Regions from separate parts of the Homo sapiens genome. Here region 2 is linked to region 1. Evidence: promoter capture Hi-C in human tissues and cell types (Jung and others, 2019). All regions are on one chromosome and are shown on one strand. Each heading gives the region's core, a stretch centred on a gene start or on the middle of the fragment in contact. The rest is flanking DNA. Distances are from core to core; before and after follow the strand shown.

Region 1 (6,435 bases), core at 1,648-4,147:
GGCAAAGAAAGAGTAGACGGCTATGGTCACCACCTGGAGAATGAAGAGCCAGGCTCAGTGCAGGATGCAGCGGGCCAAGGAGAAATGCTGCCCCTGCCTCTGAGGATCTATGGGAAGTCTGACAAGTAATCAAACATGTATCCTGGTGTGGCAGTACCAGTGGGGACAGGGTCACCTTGTTGGGGGTGGTGGGGGGCTTTTAGGATGAACCCGGTGCCTCAGGGGACTGAAATGGCCAGGCAAGTACCATCGCTAATTCTTCTCATCTCACACACAGCACAGGACATACAGTAGGCACTGGGACTCGGGAGGGGAGAGGCAGTTACTTGGGTGTAGACGAGGGGGATGCTGATCCAGTCATAGTGGAATAGCATGCTGCACTTGGCTCGGTACTTGTTCAGCTCCTGGGGGAACAGCAGGAACAGGAAGTCAGCAGAGGTGAGGAAGGAACAGGGGTGCCCAGCACAAACTAGGCCTGGGCCTGGCCAGGAGGCTCTTTCTCATTCTGCCCTCAGAGGTGTATTAAGATGGGGTGCTTGAATCCCAGCTCTGCTAACTAGCTGTGTAACTTAGGCAAATTTCTTTTCTACTCTGTGCCTCAGTTTCCACATCTGTGCAAGGAGGATGATAGTACCTATGTCAAGAGTTGCTGTAAGGGATGAATGAGTTAACATGGGTACAGGGCTTCCAAAAGGCTGGGGTACACAGCTGATGCCATACAACTGTTAGGTATTAAAATTATTATTCATCTTTAAAATTAGAGGGAGGAGGGCAGATGGGTCTGGTCCTGAGCCCACTCACTTCCAAAAGTAGACAGAGAGCGATATCGTCACGTATTCGCCCGTCCCTCCGGGCCTGGGCCGCCAGGTTGGTGAACCAGACGCAGGGGACCCAGTACTTGTTGAAGTCGGATTTCAGGCTCTCAAACTTTTTCCTCTCTTCCTGGGACATGAAACCTGAGGGGGTAAAGCAGGTGGGGTGCAGTTGCACCCTCTGCCGCCAGGGGAGGCTGCTGTTCCGCCGTCTGGCTCCCCTCCCTCGCGTCCACCGGCTGTCCCAGGACTCGCGGTTCCGCGTTCCTGTCGCAGTCCAGACCCTTCCCTGGAGGCCCCTGCTCCCAGGACTCTCCCAGGCGCCACCTGCATCCGGCTGTGGGCCGGACCCCCAGAGGCTCCCGGCGGGCGGCGCACCTGCGTCCACCACGTGCTCCATGGTGGGGAAGCGCTTAAGCACGCGGGTGCTGACCGAGCGCAGCACCAGCACGGACGCCAGGTTCGCGTAGCGGATGAGGGTGCGGCGCAGCAGGCGGCCCCGCTGGTCCACGCCGTGCACGCTAGCCGAGATGACGCACATCAGCTGGTCTGGCAGCGGGATGCTTGTGTACTGGGACCACCAGCGGTTCACCACGAGAGTCACATAGAAACCTGCTTGGCCGCCGTGATAGAGGGAGTAGGAAGGGAGAGTGGAGAGCCTGGGGGTCGGAGCGCCTCACCTCCCCCAGCAAAGGGCCTGGTCCAGGCCAGTTGAATCGTGGCAGGGGGAAGGAAACATTCAGCTCCAGTGCCCTGCTGTGCGAGGCCAGGAGGAGGGAGGAGGGCAAACTTCCTTCAGCAGAGGGAAAGTGGGGATTCAAAGCCAGGAGACTGCTTCCCAGGAGGGTGGGGAAGGGGTTGTCACCTCTGTCCAGCTCCCCTGCAGTGCCCAGGGTGGGCTTGTGAGGCCAGCAGGTGTCTTGTGCCTTGCTGGAAGTGAGGGTCCGGCAAGTGATAGGGCCCTGCCCTCTGGAAGTCCTGGACCCAGCACCCAGCTCCTGTGCCTGCTGGGCCTGCTCTGGCTGACCAGGAAGGCTCTGCCACCGTGTTGAGTAATTCTTTTTTTTTTTTTTTTTTTTTTTAGCAGAGTCTCGCTACATTGCCCAGGCTGGACTGGAACTCCTGGGCTCAAGCGATCCTCTCACCTCAGCCTCTCGAGTAGCTGAGACTGCAGGTGTGTCACCACACCATCTGTTGGGTAATTCTGACCCTCGGAGCTGTCAACCCAACCCAGAGGTCAGGGAACACAGTAAGGGGGACACAGGGAAAACTAGAAGGGAGCCTTACCCAATACAAAGGACAAGGGAATGAGGTCTGCTGAGCGGTTGCAGTACCGGGCCACCTGAGCATACACGTACCTCTGCTCCTGGGTCAGCAGCAGCCTGGGGAAGGCAGGTGTAGGCTTGGGTTAGAGGGAGGTGGGTGGCCCAGTCTCCCCACTTGCGCCAGCTCTAAGACCCTGCCCTTACCGGTAGGTGATGCTAAGCACAGCGTACAAGGCCCCAAAGAGGAGGAATTCCTTGTAGAGGAGCTTGTAGATGCTTCCCCTCCAGCGGAGAAGCAGGCCAGAGAAACCTCCGAAGCGGGCCTCCGCCACTTTGAGAGTGTATGAAACCGTCATGGTGCTGGGAGCCTGGGGCAGGAGGTCACAAGAGTTGCCCCCAGGGCTGTCGTTTAGTTCTCCAGACAACCTCCCTTCCACTCTGGTCTCACACACCCCAGCCTTCACCCTGCGTCAGTGGACAAGGGGGTAGGAGCCTGCAGAGCAGAAAAGTACACCCCACCCCCTGCAGAACTGAGCAGTACATGGGCAAAGCCAGGCTAGAGTTGGACAAGGTAGAACTGAGATCTGTGTCCCTTCATGCATGAGGTTTCCTCAAGCTCCTCTTCAGCCTGCAGGGCTAGGGATAACCAGATCCTGAACTGCTGCGGACAAGAGACGCAGCTCCAGCCCAAATCCACTGCTATTCCTTGGGGCCTTGCTTTGGAAGCTGATTAACTAGAACTACCAGGGCCCAGGGCACTCTCACCCCCATCCCATACCTGCCTACCTGCTCTGGGCAGCAGCCCGTGTGGAAGATGAACTGGGCTAGACTTCAACCCCCACAGACTTAAGTACCTCTGCAGTCCATAAAGTTAGGCTGGACTGAGGCCTATCATTGATGGATTGAAGCTGTCATCCAGCTTCCCCTGGTGCTGGGAACTGGGTGTGTCTCCTTACCCCTGTAGGGTTGGGCTGGCCTTCGAGTGGCAGAAATGCCAGCTATACTGACCCCACAGCTCACACAGACGACACCATGTCCTTCAAGCCAGTATGACAGGGGTTATTGTCCCACGTTTCAGGTGGGAAGACAGATGCATGATAAACTGTTATAATAATACCAGCTGCTGATCACAGAGCACTGACTAAGTGACAGGAACCATGCCAAGGGCACTACTAGGTCATCCTCTCAAGAAATCCTCATCACAGCACCATGAGGTAGGGAATCAATCATCCACATTTCACAGATGAGGCTCCAAGAGGTAAATGACTTGCCCGCCGTCGGCCATACAGCTAGAACATGTTGGAGGCAGGATTCAAAGCCAGGGCTGATGGACTTCCAAGGCTGGAAGTGGCCTAGCAAAGGCATGAGCTCCAGGACCCATCCTGTGCACTGGCCACACTCCCAGTCTTCTTGTACAGGGGCTTGGGGGCTTGGCCAGGCTCTTCTCCATCCATGCCACGGGGCTGACAGCCACAGATCTGGAAGCTCAGGCCTAGGAGTGCAGGCTCCGTTAAGCCCTGTGTCCAACATCCTGACTCCTAGGGGTGCCCAAGATTTGAGTGGCCACTTTCACCTCTGGAGGAAGTAATACCTAAGGCGCTGATAGAAATAGAACTTCCGCTGCCAGGCAAGGTGGCTCACACCTGTAATCCTAGCACTTTGGGCAGCCTCAACGCAGGTGGATCACTTGAGGTCAGGAGTTCGAGACTAGCCTGGCCCAACATGGTGAAACCCTGTCTCTACTAAAAATACAAAAATTAGCCGGGTGTGGTGGCACGAACTTGTAATCCCAGCAGGTACATGGGAGGCTGAGGCAGGAGAATTGCTTGAACCTGGGGAGGCGCAGGTTGCAACGAGTTGAGATCGTGCCACTGCACTCTAGCCTGGGTAATCAAAAAAAAAAAAAAAAGAAAAGAAAGAAAGAAAAAGAAAAAGAAAAAGAAATAGAATCTCAATGGGAGAATCGCTTGAACCCGGGAGGGAGAGGTTGCAGTGAGCTGAGATTGTGCCACTGCACTTCAGCTTGGGTGACAGAGACTCTGTCTCAAAAAAAAAAAAAAAAAAAAAGGCCAGGCACTGTGACTCACGCCTGTAATCCCAGCACTTTGGGAGGCCGAGGCAGGCGGATCACCTGAGGTCGGGAGTTCGAGATCAGCCTGACCAACATGGAGAAACCCCATCTCTACTAAAAATACAAAATTAGCTGAGCATGGTGGCACATGCCTGTAATCCCAGCTACTCCGGAGGCTGAGACAGAAGAATCGCTTGAACCTGGGAGGTGGAGATTGCGGTGAGCCGAGATCATGCCATTGCACTCCAGCCTGGACAACAAGAGCAAAACTTTGTCTCAAAAAAGAAAAAGAAAAAGAAAAAAGAAAAGAAAAGAAATAGAACCTCAAAGTGGAAGAGAATTGGCAGCTTACTTACCCTCCCAGTGCTGAGGTAAGTGAACACTGAAAAATCCCAAGAGTGGTGGTCCTGCCTCTGTCTTGTTTTGGGAAGCTCCTCCCCCTACACTGTGAGCTGGTTCTCTTCTGCAAGTTTCCTAAAGATAGGAAGCATAGAGAGGTGATTAGGAGCACAGGCTTGGGAATTGGACAAACCTGGGTCTGAACCCCAGCTCTTTGTAACTGTGCAAGTTACCTAATCTCTCTGAACCTCAGTTTCCTCCTCTGCAAATCAGAATCAAGAACGCCTAACCTCATGGGGCAATTTTGAGTATTCACAGAAACAATGCCTATGGCCTAAAGCACTGTGGGTGGTTGGCTTGGGCTGCTGTTACTATGAAAATTTGAATCTGTTCTCTTTGGTTTCCCACGACTGGTCCAGTCTTGCCTACCAAGCCTTCCAAGCCAGACAGTCCCTGAGAAATGAGGAGGCAGAGACCTTTTCTTCATGTCCTGCTAACCTGCCCCAGACCAAACAGTGCTGGATCCTGGCTTTTAAGCTGAATACACAAGGCCCTCTGAGACTTACCCACCTCTACCCTCATCACCAGTCTCTGCCTAGCTCATATAAAATTTTTTTTTAATTTTAATTTTTGTGAGTGCATAGTAGGTGTATATGCCTAGCTCATTTGTAACTGTTCCTTCAAGATGTGGCTCAGAGCACCCTCTAGGAAGCCTTCCATGATCTTCCCCAGGTTACTCCTCAAAACCCTCTGGGTTTTCTCTCTTGCAGCAGTTAATCACAGTGGTCTATGATCTGTTTACAGGGAGATCTCCCCTCTAGCCTGTGAGACACCTGAGAACAGTTTTGAATCTGATTCATCTAGGTAAAGCTAGATTACAGTGGCTCATGCCTGTAATCCTGACACTTTGGGAGGCTGAGGTGGGAGGATCACTTAAGCCCAGGAGTTTGAGACCAGCCTGGGCGACATAGTGAGACCTGTCTCTACAAAAAATTTTTTTAAATTAGCTGGGTGTGGTGGTGTGTGCCTATAGTCCAGGTACTTGGGAGGCTGAGGTGGGAGGATCACTTGAGCCCAGGAGTTTGAGGCTGCAGTGAGCCATGATACAGCCATTGCACTCCAGCTTGGGTGACAGAGTGAGACCCTGTCTCAAAACAAAAACAAAAACAAAAAAAGAAAAAGAAAAAGCTGGGGAGGACTTGAAACCAAGCAAGCTTCTTTTTCTTTCTTTCTTCTCATCCTTCCCTCCTTCTTGCCTCCCTCCACCCCCTCTTTTGTTCTCCATTTCTCTCTTCCCTTTTAAGATGAAAGACATCTGGTCCCCCACCCCACCCCTGCTATTTTGTGAGATTTCCCAGATGAGCCAAGATCTGGAAAACTACTCATGGCCTGACTGGCGTTACATTCTCCATGGGAGATGTCAATATGAGGAAAGAACAGGACTCAGAGAGAGAGAGAGAGAGAGAGAGAGTATGTGTGTGTGTGTGTGTGTGTCTGTGTGTGTCCAGGACCTGACCTGGGGAGGGTGAGATGCCAGCTCCTGGGCCTCAGGCATCATGGCCAGGCAGTTCATTCTCATGCTCTGATCTGTGGCTTTCCTAGAGCATCTGGGCTGCTTACCACTTAAAGATGTTCTAGGACTTGGAAAGCCAGGTCCTGGGAGTGCAGGAGCTCAGGCCGTGTCTCCCTGACAGCTCTACCCCAGGAAGACCAGCTGGCTGCATTTCAATCCTGCACCGCCACCCGCACCTGTGGCCCTCACACCTCTGCTTGTTCCCAGCCCTGTGGTCTGTGAATTTCCCACAGAGCCCGGGATAAAAGTACGTGACCTGAAGCCTCTGCCAGAGGAAGAGGGCGGTCCCCAGGCCCACCCAGTCCCTACCTCCTGAATCACCTTATCTCCTTCTCAGCTGTTGACCAGTCCCTTTGTTTATGGTGCAGGAGAGGG
Region 2 (6,435 bases), core at 1,946-4,445, 120 kb after region 1:
AAACCCTGTCTCTATTAAAAATACAAAATTAGCCGGGCATGGTGGTGCATGCCAGCTACTCGGTGGCTAAGGCAGGAGAATCGCTTGAACCCAGGAGGTGGAGGTTGCAGTGAGCCGAGATCACGCCATTGCACTCCAGTCTGGGCAACAAGAGCGAAACTCCATCTCAAAAAAAAAAAAAAAAAAAAAAAAAAGATGGCCACAATTATTCCCCTCTCTGTACTCATATCCTTTTGTAAAGTAACTTTGCAGCTCCTCCCATCATGAGGTAGAGTCTATTTTGCATCTCATGACTCTGGGCTGGGCTTATGACTGCTTTGATCTGAAGAATGTGGTGCAAATAATGCTGTTCCAGCCCTTTCTCCAATTCACAAGATTAAGAAGTCTCAGCTCTGCCTATAAAGACTCTGTTGCCAAAGCACATTCAAACACAAGGTGACACTCTGGCTCCATTAATGTCCTCTTCCAACAAATTTACTGGGATCCTACTATGTCAGGCCATGTATTAGACCTTAGGCCTACAAAGACAAAATACAACCACTATCCTTATGTAACTTATAGTCCAGAGCAATACAGGGTTATAAATGTTACCACAGAACTTTCTTCAGTATATAGGGGAGCACAAAGGAAGAAGCACGGTTCTGCCTATGACAGGAAAGATTAGAAAAATCTTCACAGAAAAATGATATTTGAGCTGAGTCTTGAAAGAAAAATAAGTTCTTAGCCAGGGAGAGAAGAGTAACTTTGGCTGAAGGATTACCAGGAACGGTGAAAAGTAAAAGGACAAAGACATTACAAGGAATGCAGAAGTTAACAGAACTATAAGCAATTTTTCATAGCTACTGATAGAATGTTGAGAATGGGGTTGTGTTAGAGAAAGATGAGATATAAGGCTGGAGGGGTAAGCATGATTAGATAACTGAGGGCTTTAGGAATGTGTGCTTTATTCTACAAGCAATGTATTTATAGATTTGGGATAAAGAGATAGTGGAAAGCAAAGTTGAAAATTCTGGAGAATGTTGAAAAAACTAATGGAGAAAAGGTTCCAGGAGTGGCAGAAGAAAGGGGGTAAAAGGCATAAATGAAGGGACTGGCCCCAAACTTCTTCTAATGCTGGAGGAAAGGAATCGAAGGTGGGTCTGAATAAAGGCAAAGTCATGGATGGGGTAGCTGGGGAAATCAGCAGGCCCATGTTTTGACAGGAGAATGGTGATGGTAGAGAACAGCTTCTGAGAGGAGTGGAAAGCTGGCCCAGGACAAATGGAAGAATGAAGAGTGGTTCTGAGGGTTCAGCTAAGATAGGAGCCATGAATTTATAGTGCTGCCAATTTATATCCGTGCATAATATTTCTCCTAAAGACTTTGGACTTGGAGAGAAATGCCTGAAGGCACAGGACCTAGATTGGATGAAGAAGGAAATGAGGGGGGAAAAGAGAGAGAGAGGGAGAGAAAAAAGAGAGGGTAGGAGTGGTGGTAGTAAGGGACTAGAAAGATTTGAGGCTGAAATAAGGAAACAGGATTCTGGGTAAAGATGGCAGATTAAACATAAGCGTTAACCCATCCTCTTTCTGAAAACTCACTGAAGTGTCAGTACAGATTTTTTTTTTTTTTAAAGACATAAACCCACAAGGACAAAGACCACAAGAAGAGATGACAACAAAATTTTGGAAGCTGGAAAACAAAAGGATGGTGGTGGTAACAGATTTAGCATATCCAAGAAAGGTGAATCCTAAACCATCTATAAGGAAAGCTAAGAAGCAGCTTGATTTGTATCTCAGGAGCCCTGAAATGATCAGGAATTGGCAGCACAGCTTTTACCCACCCAGGCAGGAGATTGGAAGATTTTTCTCTGAAGTCTATATGGCCAGCTCCAAAGCAAAGACTTAAAGATATTGACATGGGTTATCTTACAGCCATATCATTTTATAGAAGTAAATTAAAAGTACAAAAGAGTAAGAATACACTGGACAAGATACCTTGGGAAAGGTTTGTGATCCTAACTTCCACAAGCCCTTCTTCCCTTCTGTACCTGCCCCCATCCCAAACTGCAAATTAAGAGAGGTATTTTGGGAATTAGGGCTGGTTAGGAGCAGCAGAGGTACTAACTTACATAAATAGTATTTCAAGACTCCCACACCATTGGGAAAATAATCAAGGGTTTAAACCATTTCTCATCATCTGTAGTCCCAGAAATACAGATCTGGCCATGATCTTTGAGGTCTTGACTGAAGTCCTTGACTCCCCAGATATAGATGTCTAAACCTTCCAAGATGACCTTGTGAACATTTTATTCCATTTTAAAGATATCCTTTAGGAGCTTGTTTTAATATTTTCATTACTCTTCCAGTAAAAAAGCTTGACAACTATTCAAAAGAAAACAATGTAACATTGGGGAAAAGCTACATGATTTTCTTATTAAATATTTGGCACAAATATCTTTTACTTATGAACTATTAAAAACATATGTCTGTCAGAAATAAAGCAGGAATTTTAGAGCTGGAGGGGGGTTTCTTTAAAGACCAACTAAGCCAATTTCAGCTGGGGGAAACTGAGGCTTAGAAAAATAAAGTTATTTGCTCAAGGTCACACAGCTGGTTTGTCTCCAGACTAGACTGCAAATTCTCTGAACCTGAATTTTCAGTAACAAGCTCCTTCTACCAGAACATTCTTTCCTACTACATGTAATGCCTCTCCAAGTCAGAAATGCAACAATCAGACATGTAGGAAAGGTGTTGTGCTTTGTTTAAATCCAACAAGGTCATAAGAATCTGGGCCCTTTGAGGTAAAGTTACTAGTACTGACTGATGACTAGCTTGCTGGGGAGGCTGCCTCTGCACCTGACCATATTCTAACAGGTGTCTTTGAAATCAAGCAAACATTTTATCCCTCCCCACCCCCCCAAGTAATGCTTTTTTTTTTTTTTTTTTTTTTTTTTAAAAGAGAGAAATGGGTCTTGCTATGTTGCCCAGGCTGGTCTGAAACTTCTGGGCTCAAGCAATCCTTCCACCTCAGCCTCCTAAAGTGCTGGGATTACAGGTGTGAGCCACCACACCCAGCCTCTCTCTCAGAAAGAGAAAACTGATGGGATGTACATTCTGTCATTGTCCTTTTCTCTCTCTCTTTCTTTTTTAAATTTTTTTTCCATAGGTTTTGGGGGAACAGGTGGTATTTGGTTACATGAGTAAGTTCTTCAGTGGTAATCTGAGATTTTGGCGCACCCATCTCCTGAGCAGTATAGACTGAACCCAATTTACAAAAGTTAAAAAAACTTTACAAGAAGTTTCTGATTTTCCTATATACATGAAGGCCGTATCCAAGATAACTGGTGTTTGCTCACTAGGAGCTAACCTCCATCTTTGGAAATTCAGCGTTTTAAAAAAGATAAAAACAGAAGGAAGTACTGTATTCTCATAATCAGAAAGTGCTTGAAAATCTGAATCTAATTAGCTTTTAACCAGCATCTCACTTGAGGCAGGAGGAGCACAACACCCCAGAGGGTCATAGGAATGAGAGAATATTTTTATGCATATTTATCCAGCCTGCAACCCTTTTATAACTACACACCAAAGATCCTGAATCACTGGGGTGTGGATTATAAATCAGAAGAACAAGGAAAAAAATCTGCCAACAACTAAAAATGCAGCCTAGTCTTAGGAAACTGATAGAAGATCTGCTCTCAATGACCCCAGTGCTTAGTCAAGGCCCTGAGCTTGACATCTATGAAGGAAAAAGACACATCCACCTGCTCTTCATTATCACCTCACCTCTGACTAGGTCCATCTTCTTTGCTCCCATCATGCCCAAGCCTTGCTCTCATTGTCAAATGTAATTACAATTAAGGCAGTTACTAACACTCCATTGTATGGAGCCATAAACTAGTTCCCACAGAGGTTAAAAAGAAAACAGAAAACAACCTCCACCCACCCTTTAGTTGTAACCAGAGAAACGTATGAGTCTTGCTTTTTTGTTTGTTTGTTTTGTTTTGTTTTGTTTTTTTATTATACTTTAAGTTTTAGGGTACATGTGCACAATGTGCAGGTTAGTTACATATGTATACATGTGCCATGCTGGTGCGCTGCACCCACTAACTCGTCATCTAGCATTAGGTATATCTCCCAATGCTATCCCTCCCCCCTCCCCCAACCCACAACAGTCCCCAGAGTGTGATGTTCCCCTTCCTGTGTCCATGTGTTCTCATTGTTCAATTCCCACCTATGAGTGAGAACATGCGGTGTTTGGTTTTTTGTTCTTGCGATAGTTTACTGAGAATGATGATTTCCAATTTCATCCATGTCCCTACAAAGGACATGAACTCATCATTTTTTATGGCTGCATAGTATTCCATGGTGTATATGTGCCACATTTTCTTAATCCAGTCTATCATTGTTGGACATTTGGGTTGGTTCCAAGTCTTTGCTATTGTGAATAGTGCTTTTAAGAACTTAATGTCTAGGGCTGCTATCTCTAATACAGAACAAAGCATAAACATCAGTGCTTGATGGATGCATGTGAGTCAGGACCCTCATTTCACATAATAATTGCTAATCACAATTAGTTTTCCTTTCTGTATTCCAAAGGACAGAATTCCTTGAGAGTCTTGAATTTAGCAATCCAACACTGTGATACTTTTCAAGTCTTATATACCTTAAATCTATCCTACATACTTCTGTCAGATTATTTTTTTTCAGAATCCTATATTTGAATAATCATTTCCTTCCTCAAAAGTTTTTAATAATTCCCTGGTATTCAAGGCTCTCTATTTTTAGACCAACTTAACATCTCAGCCTTATCTCCTCAAGTTTCCCAACATGAACCTTCCATTCAGGTCAAACTGTCCTTCCCCACCTTTGCTCGTGGCATTCTCGGCATATAGGATTCAGCTGGCTTCCCATGTCCCTTTCCATATCCGGACCAAATCAATCCTTCAAGTCTGAATTATTCTATTCTGTTTCCCTGACCACCTCAGCGCCTAGGATTAGATACCTCCTTTGAATTCTTAGAACACTGTCTGTTGGACATAACTGTTCAGTATCTGATATCCCTTGCTATTGTTTGTTAACCTTTTCCATGCATAATTGAATCTTCCACCAAGGCTGATGAGCTATTTGAGATAAAGTCCCCTGCCTCAAGGAAAAAGTCTTCTGCCTTAAATACCAAAACAGTGGTTTGACCAGATTTGAAGGATGTGTTCCTGAAAGTAGAATGTCCTCATGAATAAGGACTAGTTCTGTCCCTAACTAGATACATTGAACAAAACCCCTTCTTCCTTGCTTTCAGAATCATTGCCTGAAATATAGAAGACTAGACTAACTAAATGACCTTCCAGCTGTGGCAGTTCGTAATTCTAGAAATATTACATTGGTGCAAAAGCAATTGCGGTTTTTGTTAAAAAAAAAAAAAAAAAAAAAAAAAGGCAAAAACCGCAACTACTTTTGCACCAACCTAATAGCTACAAATAAGATCATATTTTTTAATACATTAAGAGATATTGTTTAATTGCATCTTGTGGCGAGCTTTTCTGAAATACAAAAAAACTCCCTCTGCTTCCTACGTTTTTATTTTGATAAATGGATTTAGGAAAAAAAAATCCAAAACAAAACCCTTACTTCTTTCTTCGCAGAATTCCAGAGCTAGTCAGCTATATCCTGACCACTGTAAGAAACAAGCTGTGCTCACAAGGCTCTGTCACAGATATTCTTTATGGAGAAAAAAAAGAATCCGAGTGGGGTCAGCAAACTACAGCCTGCCAGTTAGATGGCCCTGTTGCCTGTTTTAATGGAAAAAAAAAAAAAATCTTGTACAGATAGGGTCTCACTCTGTCACCCAGGCTAGAGTTCAGTGGCATGAAAAAAGTTCACTGTAGCCTCAAACTCCTGAGTGCAAGGGATCTTCCCGTCTCCGCCTCCCAAGTAGCTGGGACTACAGGCACGCGTCACCATGCCCAGGTATTTCTTCAAAAACTGAGATGGGGGTCACAGGATGTTGCCCAGGCTGGTCTCAAACTCCTGGCCTCAAGTGATCCTCTTGCCTCTGTCTCCCAAAGTGGACATTAGAGGTGTGAGCCACCGCACCCAGCCTTACTTGCTTTTAAAACTTTTTAAATTGGGAATTTTTTTTTTTTTAGATGGAGTTTCACTCTTGTTGTCCAAGCTGGAGTGCAATGGCACAATCTCGGCTCACTGCAACCTCCGCCTCCCGGGTTCAAGTGATTCTGCAGCCTCAGCCTCCCAAGTAGCTGGGACTACAGGCACGCGTCAACATGCCCAGGTAATTTTTTCAAAAACTTTTTGTAGAGATGTAGTCTCAGGATGTTGCCCAGGCTGGTCTCAAACTCCTGGCCTCAAGTTATTCTCTTGCCTTGGTCTCTCAAAGTGGACATTAGTGGTGTGAGCCACCGCACCCAGCCTTACTTGCTTTTAAAACTTTTTAAATTGG

What was found. Contacts are between HindIII fragments. The study calls those that stand out against the background at their distance.
Region 2: a contact is called between a fragment that was not itself captured here and the fragment with the promoter of BEST4 in region 1, in 2 of the 25 tissues and cell types used here (IMR-90 fibroblasts and liver).

Annotation. Positions count from the first base shown.
Region 1 is chr1:44,785,273-44,791,707 of GRCh38, forward strand. BEST4 (bestrophin 4) reads right to left here and starts at 2,898. Exons shown (of 9, transcript NM_153274.3): 1 at 2,282-2,898; 2 at 2,100-2,194; 3 at 1,191-1,424; 4 at 802-956; 5 at 327-404; 6 at 1-33. The coding sequence starts at 2,433. RefSeq lists enhancers at 755-1,440, 1,350-1,439, 1,441-2,126, 6,399-6,435 and a silencer at 1,100-1,229. The HindIII fragment of the contact is 9,775 bases long and covers 1-6,170 here.
Region 2 is chr1:44,907,723-44,914,157 of GRCh38, forward strand. The region is part of intron 5 of EIF2B3 (eukaryotic translation initiation factor 2B subunit gamma); the gene reads right to left. Among named protein-coding and RNA genes, the nearest start is that of PTCH2, 68 kb to the left of the region's middle. The HindIII fragment of the contact is 5,381 bases long and covers 506-5,886 here.